2 separate regions of the Homo sapiens genome follow, and region 1 is linked to region 2. The links are contacts of gene promoters, found by promoter capture Hi-C in blood cells and fetal thymus (Javierre and others, 2016). All regions are on one chromosome and are shown on one strand. The core of a region is centred on a gene start or on the middle of the fragment in contact, and the rest is flanking DNA. Distances in the headings are between cores, read along the strand shown.

What was found. Contacts are between HindIII fragments. The CHiCAGO score rates a contact against its expected background, and 5 or more counts as called.
Region 1: a contact is called between a fragment that was not itself captured here and the fragment with the promoter of S1PR4 in region 2, in 3 of 17 cell types (naive CD4 T cells, activated CD4 T cells and monocytes). The highest score is 5.5, in naive CD4 T cells.

What each region holds. Positions count from the first base shown.
Region 1 is chr19:2,967,682-2,974,878 of GRCh38, forward strand. No RefSeq gene overlaps it. Among named protein-coding and RNA genes, the nearest start is that of TLE6, 6.3 kb to the right of the region's middle. The HindIII fragment of the contact is 8,792 bases long and covers 1-6,614 here.
Region 2 is chr19:3,177,519-3,181,713 of GRCh38, forward strand. S1PR4 (sphingosine-1-phosphate receptor 4) reads left to right here and starts at 1,251. Exons shown (of 1, transcript NM_003775.4): 1 at 1,251-2,814. The coding sequence starts at 1,275. The coding sequence ends at 2,429. RefSeq lists enhancers at 1-115, 1,699-2,348, 2,389-2,568, 2,609-2,838, 3,449-3,498 and a silencer at 919-1,468. The HindIII fragment of the contact is 14,219 bases long and covers 1-4,195 here.

The DNA of each region.
Region 1 (7,197 bases), core at 969-3,468, 210 kb before region 2:
CTGGATCTCCTGACCTCGTGATCCGCCTGCCTCAGCCTCTCAAAGTGCTGGGATTACAGGCGTAAACCACCACGCCTGGCCGCATCAAACTTCCCGTCACAACCTTATTCTACAGGACATCTTTTCAACAAGACCAGCTTTATCCTTGTTTTTTGTTTGTTTGTTTGTTTGAGACAGGGTCTCACTCTGTCGTCCAGGCTGGAGTGCAGTGGTGTGATCTCAGCTCACTGCAACCTCCGCCTCCTGGGTTCAAGTGATTCTTGTGCTTCAGCCTCCCAAGTAGCTAGGATTACAGGCAGGCGCCAGCATGCCCGGTTAATTTTTGTATTTTTAGCAGAGATGGGGTTTCTCCATGTTGGCCAGGCTGATCTTGAACTCCTGGCCTCAGGTGATCTGCCCACCTCAACCTCCCAAAGTGCTGGGATTACACGCGTCAGCCACCGTGCCTGGCCTACCGTTGTTATTGATCCTTGTAGCGAAGGATAATTACCTCAAAATAGTTACGTCATCTTCCTCAATTCTCCTTTAGAAATCTTTGTCTTCTATTACCTCCCTCAGTATGTGCATAGCTTACTTACTATAGCACTGCAAAGCCCTATTTCCAAATAAATATCCTTTTGTTTTAGAGAGCTTCTCCTTGTTTGTTATTTAGGTTGACAGTTTCTTTTTTGAGCCTTGTAGTGGGTAGAACTTTGTCCCCCAAAAATATCTGTTGAAGTCCAAAAGCCCCCTCCATCCCCTGTACCTGGGAATGCGACCTTATTTGGAAATAGGGTCATTGCAGATATGATTAGTTATGGCCGAATGCAGTGGCTCACTCCTGTACTCCCAGCACTTTGGGAGGCCAAGGTGGGTGGATCACGTGAGGCCAGGAGCTTGAGACCAGACTGGGCAACACGCCAACACTCCCCTCGGCAAAAAAATACAAAAATTAGACGGGCATGGTGGCACACACCTGGAGTCCCAGCACTTTGGGAGGCCAACGCAGGCAGACCACAAGGGCAACAGATGGAGACCATCCTGGCCAACAGAGTGAAACCCCATCTCTACTAAAAATACAAAAATTAGTTGGGCGTGGTGGTGGCGGGCGCCTGTAGTCCCAGCTACTGGGGAGGTTGAGGCAGGAGAATCGCTTGAACCTGGGAGGCGGAGGTTGCAGCGAGCCGAGATCACATCGCTGCACTCCAGCCTGGCGACAGAGCAAGACTCCGAGTCAAAAAAAAAAAAAAGATTAGTTAAGATGAGGTCACATTGGATTAAGACAGCTTCTAAATCTGTTGTTTTTTTGTTGTTGTTGTTGTTGTTTTTTGTTTTTTTTGAGACAGGGTCTCACTCCCTCACCCAGGCTGGAGTGCAGTGGCGCCACCTCGGCTCACTGCAACCTCCGCCTCCCGGGTTCAAGCGATTCTCAAGGCAGCTCCTAAATCTAATAATTGGCGTTCTTATCAGGAGAGGGAAATTTGGACACAGACACAGAGACAAACAGGGAAGAAAGCCAAGCAGTGATGGAAGCAGAAATTGGAGTGAAGCCAAGTCACACCAAAGCCTGCTGGCCGCCACCAGAAACTGGAAGAGGCAGGGAGGACCCTCCCCTGGAGCCTTCAGAGGGAGCACAGTGGCCCTCCCCACACCTCGATTCTGGCCTCCGTCACTGTGCGAAAATACATTTCTGTTGTCTGAAGCCACCTGGTTTGCAGTCATCTGTTACAGCAGCTACAGAAAACAAATATCAGCTTCTTTCTACCAGGTGGCAGGAGGCAAACCTCATCAATCCTAGCCACTTCCACAAACTCACTCTTCCTGTGACAGGGGGTTGGTGTGGAGCCTGAGGGTGGGGGTGAAGCTGTCCTCACAGGGTTAACAAGAATTCTGTACAGATTGGCCGGGAGCGGTGGCTCACGCCTGTAATCCCAGCACTTTGGGAGGCCGAGGCGGGTGGATCACAAGGTCAGGAGTTCGAGACCAGCCTGGCCAAGATGGTGAAACCCCGTTTCTACTAAAAATAAAAAAAAATTAGCCAGGCGTGGTGGCAGGCGCCTGTAGTCCCAGCTACTTAGGAGGCTGAGGCAGGAGAATTCCTTGAACCTGGGAGGTGGAGGTTGCAGTGAGCCGAGATTGTGCCAATGCACTCTAGCCTGGGTGACAGAGCGAGACTCCATCTCAAAAAAAAAAAAAAAAAAAGAATTATGTACAGACATATAGTTATAATTAAGCATTAGGCTGGGCCTGGTGGCTCACGCCTGTAATCTTAGCACTTTGGGAGGCCGAGGCAGGTGGATCACCTGAGGTCAGGAGTTCGAGACCACCCTGACCAACATGGTGAAACCCTGTCTTTACTAAAAGGACAAAAAATTAGCCGGGCGTGGTGGCGGGCGCCTGTAATCCCAGCTACTAGGGAGGCTGATGCAGGAGAATTGCTTGAACCCGGGAGGTGGAGGTTGCAGTGAGTCGAGACTGCACCACTGCACTCCAGCCTGGGCAAAAAGAGCGAAACTCCATCTCAAAAAATAAAAAATTAAAATTAAAATGAAGCATTAATCTGGCTGCACTCTGACCTGCTTCCTTGTAACAGAAAAGCACATTGCACTAGACACTGACCATTTGCACCACATAGATACCATCTCTGACGTTAGAAGCAAAATACTTCTGTTTAAGAATTGCTTAAGCAGGCCAGGCTCATTCCTGTAATGCCAACAATTTGGGAGGCCCTGGCAGGAGGATTGCTTGAGCCCAGCTGTATAAGACTGGCTTGGGCAACATAGCCAGACCTCATCTCTACAGAAAATTTAAAAATTAGCCAGGCATGGTGGTGTACGCCTGTAGTCCCAGCTACTCAAAAGGCTGAGGTGGGAGGATCGCTTGAACCCAGGAGGTCACAGCTGAGTGAGCTATGATTGCACCACTGCACTCCAACCAGAGCAATAGAGCAAGACTCCATCTCTAAAAAAACAAGAACAGGGCCAGGCATGGTGGCCTGCGGCTGTAATCCTAGCATTCTGGGAGGCCGAGGTGGGTGGATCGGATCACCTGAGGTCAGGAGCTGGAGACCAGCCTGCCCAACATGGGAAAACCCCGTCCCTACTTAAAATACAAAAATTAGCTGGGCGTGGTGGCGGGCACCTGCAATCCCAGCTACTTGAGAGGCTGAAACAGGAGAGTCGCTTGAAACCGGGAGACAAAAGGTTGCAGTAAGCCGAGATGGCGCCACTGCACTCCAGCCTGGGTGACAGAGCGAGACTCCGTCTCAAAAAAAAAAAAAAAAAAAAAAAGCCAGGGATGGTGGCTCACGCCTGTAATCCCAGCACTTTGGGAAGCTGAGGCAGACAGATCACCTGAGGTCAGGAGTTCGAGACCAGCCTGGCCAACATGGTGAGACTCCCCCCCACCAACTAAAAATACAAAAATTAGCCGGGCATGGTGGCAAGTGCCTATAATCCCAGCTACTCGGGAGGCTGAGGCAGGAGAATTGCTTGAACCTGGGAGGCAGAGGTTGCAGTGAGATGAGATCATGCCGCTACACTCCAGCCTGGGGGACAGAATGAAACTCTGTCTGAAACATACAAACGAACAAAAAAAGTTTTGGAGTGTGGCGCCTGTTGACTGGTTGAAGAGTGCAGGGTGAAGTTCTGGGACGGGGGAGGGAGAAGCTATGTTCTCATGCTCATCCTGCTCCTCTCTGGGGGCCTTCACACTAGCTGGTGTCAGCTGTTCTGCTGGAATTCAGGATCTACTCAAGCAATTCTCTTTTTTCTTTCTTTCTTTCCCAGGCTGGAGTGCAGTGGCACAATCTTGGCTCACTGCAACCCCTGCCTCCCGGGTTCAAGAGATTCTCCTGCCTCAGGCTCCTGAGTAGCTGGGATTACAGGCATTTGCCACCGTGCCCCGCTAATTTTTGAGTTTTTAGTAGAGGTGGGGTTTCATCATATTGGCCAGACTGGTCTCAAACTCCTGACCTCAGGTGATCCACCCGCCTCAGCCTCCCGAAGTGCTGGGATTATAGGCATGGGTCACTGCGCCTGGCCGCAATTCTTTTTTCGACACAGGGTCTTGCTCTGTTGCCCAGGCTGGAGTGCAGTGGTACAGTCTCGGTTCAGAGCAGGCTCAACTTCCCAGGCTCAAGTGATCCTCCCACCTCAGCCTCCCGAGCAACTGGGACGACAGGTGTGTGCCACCGTGCCTGGCTAATTTTTTATTTTTTATAGAAATGGGGTCTCACTTTGTTGCCCAGGCTGGTCTTGAAGTCCTAGGCTCAAGCGATCGTCCTGCCTTGGCCTTCCAAAGTGCTGGCATTGCAGACATGAACCACGGCACCCAGCAAGGTAGTTTGCTTGTGTAAAACAAAAACTCCAAAGTATTTGGAATGCAAATGCCTTTTGTCTCAAACCTTCTAGACTTTGAGTTTCCAAGTCAACCAAACAACTCAAAAGCCAAGAACAAGGAGGAAATATTGGCTTCCTTCCTTCCTGTCTGCTGTGTCATCTGTCTCCTCCCTGAGGGGTCAAGGGAAATTGCTCCCTGCTGGCTGGGCTGGAGTGGCCAGGGCACAGCCAAAGGGAAGGACCCAGGGTGACCACACTCCAGGGAATTCCCTCCAACCCCACTCACGGGGGTTTTAAATCAGGGAGAAATGGGCCACGCTGGTGGCTCACGCCTGTAATCCCAGCACTTTGGGAGGCCAAGGTGGGCAGATCACAAGGTCAGGAGTTCGAGACCAGCCTGACCAACATGGTGAAACCCTGTCTCTACTAAAAATACAAAACCCTGTCTCTACTAAAAATACAAAAATTAGCTGGGCATGGTGGCGCACACCTGTAATCCCAGCTACTCAGGAGGCTGAGGCAGAAGGATTGCTTGAACCTGGGAGGCAGAGGGTGCAGTGAGCCAAGATCACACCACTGCACCCCAGCCTGGGTGATAGAGCGAGACTCCATCTCGGAAAAAAAAAAAAAAAAAAGGCAGGGGGAAACAGAATGGACCAGTCTCTGTGGCTCACCCCTGTAATCCCAGCACTTTAGGAGACTGAGGCAGGAGAATCGCTTGAGCCCAGGAGTTCAAAACCAGCCTGGGCAACACAGGAAGACCTTGTCCCTACAAAATACAAAAATGAGCTGGGTGTGCTGGGTGGCAAGCACCTGTGGTCCCACCTATTTGGGAGGCTGAGACGGGAGGACTGCTTGAGCCCAGGAGGTTGGGACTGCAGGGAGCCAAGATTGTGCCACCGCACTCCAGCCTGAGCAAGAGTGAGATCCTGTCTCAAAAAAAAAAAAAAAAAAAAAGGCTCAGGCCTGTAATCTCAACACTTTGGGAGAACGAGGTGGGGGTGGATCCCCTGAAGTCAGGAGTTCGAGACCAGCCTGGCCAACATGATGAAACCCTGTCTCTACTAAAAATACAAAAATTAGCCGAGTGTGGTGGCACGTGCCTGTAATACCAGCCACTCAGGAGGCTGAGGCAGAAGAATCGCTTGAACCCGGGAGGTGGAGGTTGCAGTGAGCTGAGGTTGCACCATTGCACTCCTGCCTGAGCAACAGAGTGAGACCCCTTCTCAAAAAAAAAAAAGAGTAGAAATGGAATGACTACTGAAAATGTGCTTCCGATTTCTACATGGACCCTGGAGGAATTTCTCTTTCCTAGGAGCCTCCAATCAGTGCTGTCCACTGGGACTTTCTGTGATGACAGAATGTTCTAGATCTTCGCTGTCCAGTACGGTGACCCCCAGACGCCAGTGACGACTGAGCGCCTGACATGCGGGCAGGGTGCCTGAGGAATGGAATTTTAAATTGTATTTCATTTTAATTAATTTTAACTTAAATAGCCACATGTGCTTACTGGATACCCTGTGAGACAACCCTGTGAGTCTTGGATAAAGCAACGTGCCCAGCTGAAAGTCTACAATCAGAGGGAGGGGAAAAAGCAAAGCCCATATTAGGAGGCTGGACCATAAATAAAACACACTTTAATTATGCAGCTGGGTGCAGTGGCTCACGCCTGTAATCCCAGCACTTTAGGAGGCCGAGATGAGTGGATCACTTGAGGTCAGGAGTTTGAGACCATCCTGGCCAACATGGTGAAACTCCATCTCTACTAAAAATACAACATTAGCTGGAGGTGGTGTGGTGGCGGGCGCCTGTCATCCAAGCTACTCAGGAGGCTGAGGTAGAAGAATCGCTTGAACCCAGGAGGCAAAGGTTGCAGTGAGCCAAGATCGTGCCACTGCACTCCAGCCTGGGCGACAGAGCAAGACTCTGTCACAAAAAAATAATAATAATAGCCAGGCGTGGTGGCTCACACCTGTAATCCCAGCACTTTGGGAGACCAAGGCAGGTGGATCACAAGATCAGGAGTTTGAGACCGATCCGGCCAATATGGTGAAACTCCATCTCTATTAAAAATACAAAAATTAGGCGGGTGTGGTGGCGGGCGCCTGTAGTCCCAGCTACTTGGGAGGCTGAGGCAGGAGAATCGCTTGAACCTGGGAGGTGGAGGATGCAGTGAGACAAGATCGCGCCACTGCACTCCAGCCTGAGGGACAGAGAGAGACTCTGTCTCAAAAAAATAAGTAATAAAAATTAAAAAATAATAATTATGGGACAGTGGAGGGTTCGTGGGTGGGAAGCTTTTCTGCAGGTCTTTCATGACGGCCCCTCCCTTTGTTCTCCATGGACCAGCTGCAAAACCCAAGTCACGTGTGCACATCACCACCTCTGGGGGCTACTTGTCCCAGCATTGAAACCCTCAGTTCCCCGCAGCGAGAGAGCACAGAACAGAAAACAGGGAAGAGTTTCTCTGGCTGGGTTTGGATCTGAAGTCAGCAGACCTATCGGGCATTTGTGTCACATGGGGAGGTCAGAGGATGGGAGGCGTCTCTGTAGGAGAATCCTGACAGCATTCTCTGCATTTAGAACATGCAGGGCTTAGAGCTATCGTGGGAGGCTCCCGCCACAGGAGCCACTGAGATTACAAGATTAGCTGCAATCCAAACCACATTCGGAAAAAAATAAAATAAGAAAGGGAGATACAGGCCCGGTGGCGGCACAGTGGCTCATGCCTGTAATCCATAGTACTTTGGGAGGTGGAGGTGGGAGGATCACTTGGGGTCAGGAGTTCAAGACCAGCCGGGGCAATGTACTGAGACTCCCCTCCCCCTCGCCCTGTGTTTAAAAAAAAAAAGAGGAAATAAAGGGAAATATAGGGAAG
Region 2 (4,195 bases), core at 1-2,500:
GAATCCCAAAATGGGCGCCTGGCCCCGAGACCCTACCAGCTTGTCCCTGGGGGTCTCTCTCCCTGGACCTGTGTGTCCTCCCATGGGCAGAAAGTTGGCCTCAGGCCGCCTTTGTGGGCCTCAGTTTTCCCTTCTGTAACGCATCAGGCTCTCTGGGCCTCAGTTTCCCCTTCTGCAACGCATCGGGCTCTCTGGGCCTCAGTTTCCCCTTCTGCAACGCATCGGGCTCTCTGGGCCTCAGTTTCCCCTTCTGCAACGCATCGGGCTCTCTGGGCCTCAGTTTCCCCTTCTGCAACGCCTCGGGCTCTCTGGGCCTCAGTTTCCCCTTCTGCAACGCATCGGGCTCTCTGGGCCTCAGTTTCCCCTTCTGCAACGCCTCGGGCTCTCTGGGCCTCAGTTTCCCCTTCTGCAACGCCTCGGGCTCTCTGGGCCTCAGTTTCCCCTTCTGCAACGCATCGGGCTCTCTGGGCCTCAGTTTCCCCTTCTGCAACGCATCGGGCTCTCTGGGCCTCAGTTTCCCCTTCTGCAACGCATCGGGCTCTCTGGGCCTCAGTTTCCCCTTCTGCAACGCCTCGGGCTCTCTGGGCCTCAGTTTCCCCTTCTGCAACGCCTCGGGCTCTCTGGGCCTCAGTTTCCCCTTCTGCAACGCATCGGGCTCTCTGGGCCTCAGTTTCCCCTTCTGCAACGCATCGGGCTCTCTGGGCCTCAGTTTCCCCTTCTGCAACGCACCGGGCTCTCTGGGCCTCAGTTTCCTCTTCTGTAACGCATCAGGCCCTGTTTCGGGGATCAAGTCGGATGAGTCAGTGCTCAAGGGCATGCAGGCACTTGACATTTATTAGGCACCTGCTGTGTGCTGAGCGCCGGTGGAGCATGTGGGGAGACCTCAGTGGAGCCGACGGGTGCTTCGGGGGTGATCAGGGCTGGTGGGGAGGAGTCGTCCGGCTGGAAAGGGGTGGCCCATCCCGAGTGGGGACTCATTTCCCCTCCGTGACTGACGGCTCCGGGGCTCCCTGCGGGTCTCCGGCTTTCGAGGACAGGAAGAAGGCAGCCAGGGCAGGGGTGGGGGTCCTCACAGCCAGGGCAGCCCCAGCGCGTTGGCTCCAGGAGCCCGGGTGGGGGCCGACCGTTGGGGTGCCCCTCCCTGTCCTCGGCCTTACCTCCACCCTGGAGGGCACCTTGAACATAACAGGAAATTTCAAATAACAGGAAACCAAGACCAGCAAGGCGGGTGGCTCCACCCTGCGTCGGGCCTCAGTCAGCCCCCGGGGGAGGCCATGAACGCCACGGGGACCCCGGTGGCCCCCGAGTCCTGCCAACAGCTGGCGGCCGGCGGGCACAGCCGGCTCATTGTTCTGCACTACAACCACTCGGGCCGGCTGGCCGGGCGCGGGGGGCCGGAGGATGGCGGCCTGGGGGCCCTGCGGGGGCTGTCGGTGGCCGCCAGCTGCCTGGTGGTGCTGGAGAACTTGCTGGTGCTGGCGGCCATCACCAGCCACATGCGGTCGCGACGCTGGGTCTACTATTGCCTGGTGAACATCACGCTGAGTGACCTGCTCACGGGCGCGGCCTACCTGGCCAACGTGCTGCTGTCGGGGGCCCGCACCTTCCGTCTGGCGCCCGCCCAGTGGTTCCTACGGGAGGGCCTGCTCTTCACCGCCCTGGCCGCCTCCACCTTCAGCCTGCTCTTCACTGCAGGGGAGCGCTTTGCCACCATGGTGCGGCCGGTGGCCGAGAGCGGGGCCACCAAGACCAGCCGCGTCTACGGCTTCATCGGCCTCTGCTGGCTGCTGGCCGCGCTGCTGGGGATGCTGCCTTTGCTGGGCTGGAACTGCCTGTGCGCCTTTGACCGCTGCTCCAGCCTTCTGCCCCTCTACTCCAAGCGCTACATCCTCTTCTGCCTGGTGATCTTCGCCGGCGTCCTGGCCACCATCATGGGCCTCTATGGGGCCATCTTCCGCCTGGTGCAGGCCAGCGGGCAGAAGGCCCCACGCCCAGCGGCCCGCCGCAAGGCCCGCCGCCTGCTGAAGACGGTGCTGATGATCCTGCTGGCCTTCCTGGTGTGCTGGGGCCCACTCTTCGGGCTGCTGCTGGCCGACGTCTTTGGCTCCAACCTCTGGGCCCAGGAGTACCTGCGGGGCATGGACTGGATCCTGGCCCTGGCCGTCCTCAACTCGGCGGTCAACCCCATCATCTACTCCTTCCGCAGCAGGGAGGTGTGCAGAGCCGTGCTCAGCTTCCTCTGCTGCGGGTGTCTCCGGCTGGGCATGCGAGGGCCCGGGGACTGCCTGGCCCGGGCCGTCGAGGCTCACTCCGGAGCTTCCACCACCGACAGCTCTCTGAGGCCAAGGGACAGCTTTCGCGGCTCCCGCTCGCTCAGCTTTCGGATGCGGGAGCCCCTGTCCAGCATCTCCAGCGTGCGGAGCATCTGAAGTTGCAGTCTTGCGTGTGGATGGTGCAGCCACCGGGTGCGTGCCAGGCAGGCCCTCCTGGGGTACAGGAAGCTGTGTGCACGCAGCCTCGCCTGTATGGGGAGCAGGGAACGGGACAGGCCCCCATGGTCTTCCCGGTGGCCTCTCGGGGCTTCTGACGCCAAATGGGCTTCCCATGGTCACCCTGGACAAGGAGGCAACCACCCCACCTCCCCGTAGGAGCAGAGAGCACCCTGGTGTGGGGGCGAGTGGGTTCCCCACAACCCCGCTTCTGTGTGATTCTGGGGAAGTCCCGGCCCCTCTCTGGGCCTCAGTAGGGCTCCCAGGCTGCAAGGGGTGGACTGTGGGATGCATGCCCTGGCAACATTGAAGTTCGATCATGGTACGTGATGTTGCGGCCTCTTATTCCCTGGTGCGTGCATGCGTGGGGGCCGTGGCTCAGGGGGGCTGTGGATCTAGGGGCAGCCGGGTGTGTCTTTGCTAGAGAGGGCCACGGGCCAGTGCCCTGTGAGGGTGGAGTGTGTGTGTGTGTGTGTGTGTGTGTGTGTGTGTGTGGACAACCTCTGGGCGTTGCGGGAAGTGGGGGTGACAATGACAGTTAATGCCGCCTCTTCTTGTTCACTTCCCCTTTAGAAATGGCAGGGCCCATGCCCCATCTCTGGCCTCTGCATCTTTTGGGGACCCACTCTCTGGGGCTGGCAGAGGCACCACCTTGGCTTCCTGGGCTGGGGGAATCTTCCCTCACATCCCCTTCAGCATGAACGGCCTCGGCTTTCCCGGTGGGTAAAACAGTTTAATCACTGAAGCCGAAGCACAGGGTTGATTGTACACGCTCCCCGCCAGCCACAGGGGCTGACAACTGCCTGCCCCGTGAAACTCCAGTGGAGACGTTTCAGCTCCACACCATTCAGTATGGGAGACGCCAGCCCCACGGGGCTACGGTGCAAGCAGATAACTGAATTTCGAAGTGTAGGTTGTGTTTAATTTGAATCTGTTTATATTTCGGTAGCCCCATGGGGCGGGTGGCCACAGTTTCAGTGCAGATGTAAATCCGGAAGCCTCCAGCACCTGCAGCTCATAGACAGCTCTCGCCCACCTTCTCCCAGGACCAAGCCAGTCCCGTCCAGTCCAGTGTCTGAGCAGAGTCAGAATCCACACCACCCGCCGCCTGGGCTCAGAAAGTTCTGCTTTAAGTCATTATTTCTCCACTGTACGATGGGGAATGCGGTGTGTGGGGGCCATTTACCCACCAACACAGCAGCTGTGAGGCACACACGGCTATTGAAAATTCATGGAAATTGCTGGGTGTGGTGGCTCATGCCTGTAATCCCAGCACTTTGGGAGGCCGAGGCAGGAGGATTGCTTGAGTGCAGGAGTTCCAGACCAGCCTGGGCAACATAGCGAAACCACATCTCTACAAAAAAATCCTCCAAAATTAAAAAAATTAGCCCGAGCATGTTGTTGCATGCCTGTGGTTCCAGCTACTCGAGAGGCTGAGGTGGGAGGATCACTTGAGCCCGGGAGGTCGAGGCTGCAGGGAGCGGTGATCGTGCCAGCCTGGGTGACAGAGTGAGACCCTGTCTCTAAAAAAAAATTAAAAAAAAAAAAAAAAGAAAATTCATTGAAATTAAATGAAAGTTAGGCCAGGTGCATTGGTTCATGCCTGTAATCGCAGCACTTTGGGGGGCCGAGGTGGGTGGATCATGAGGTCAGGAGTTCAAGACCAGCCTGGCTAAGATGGTGAAACCCTGTCTCTACTAAAAATA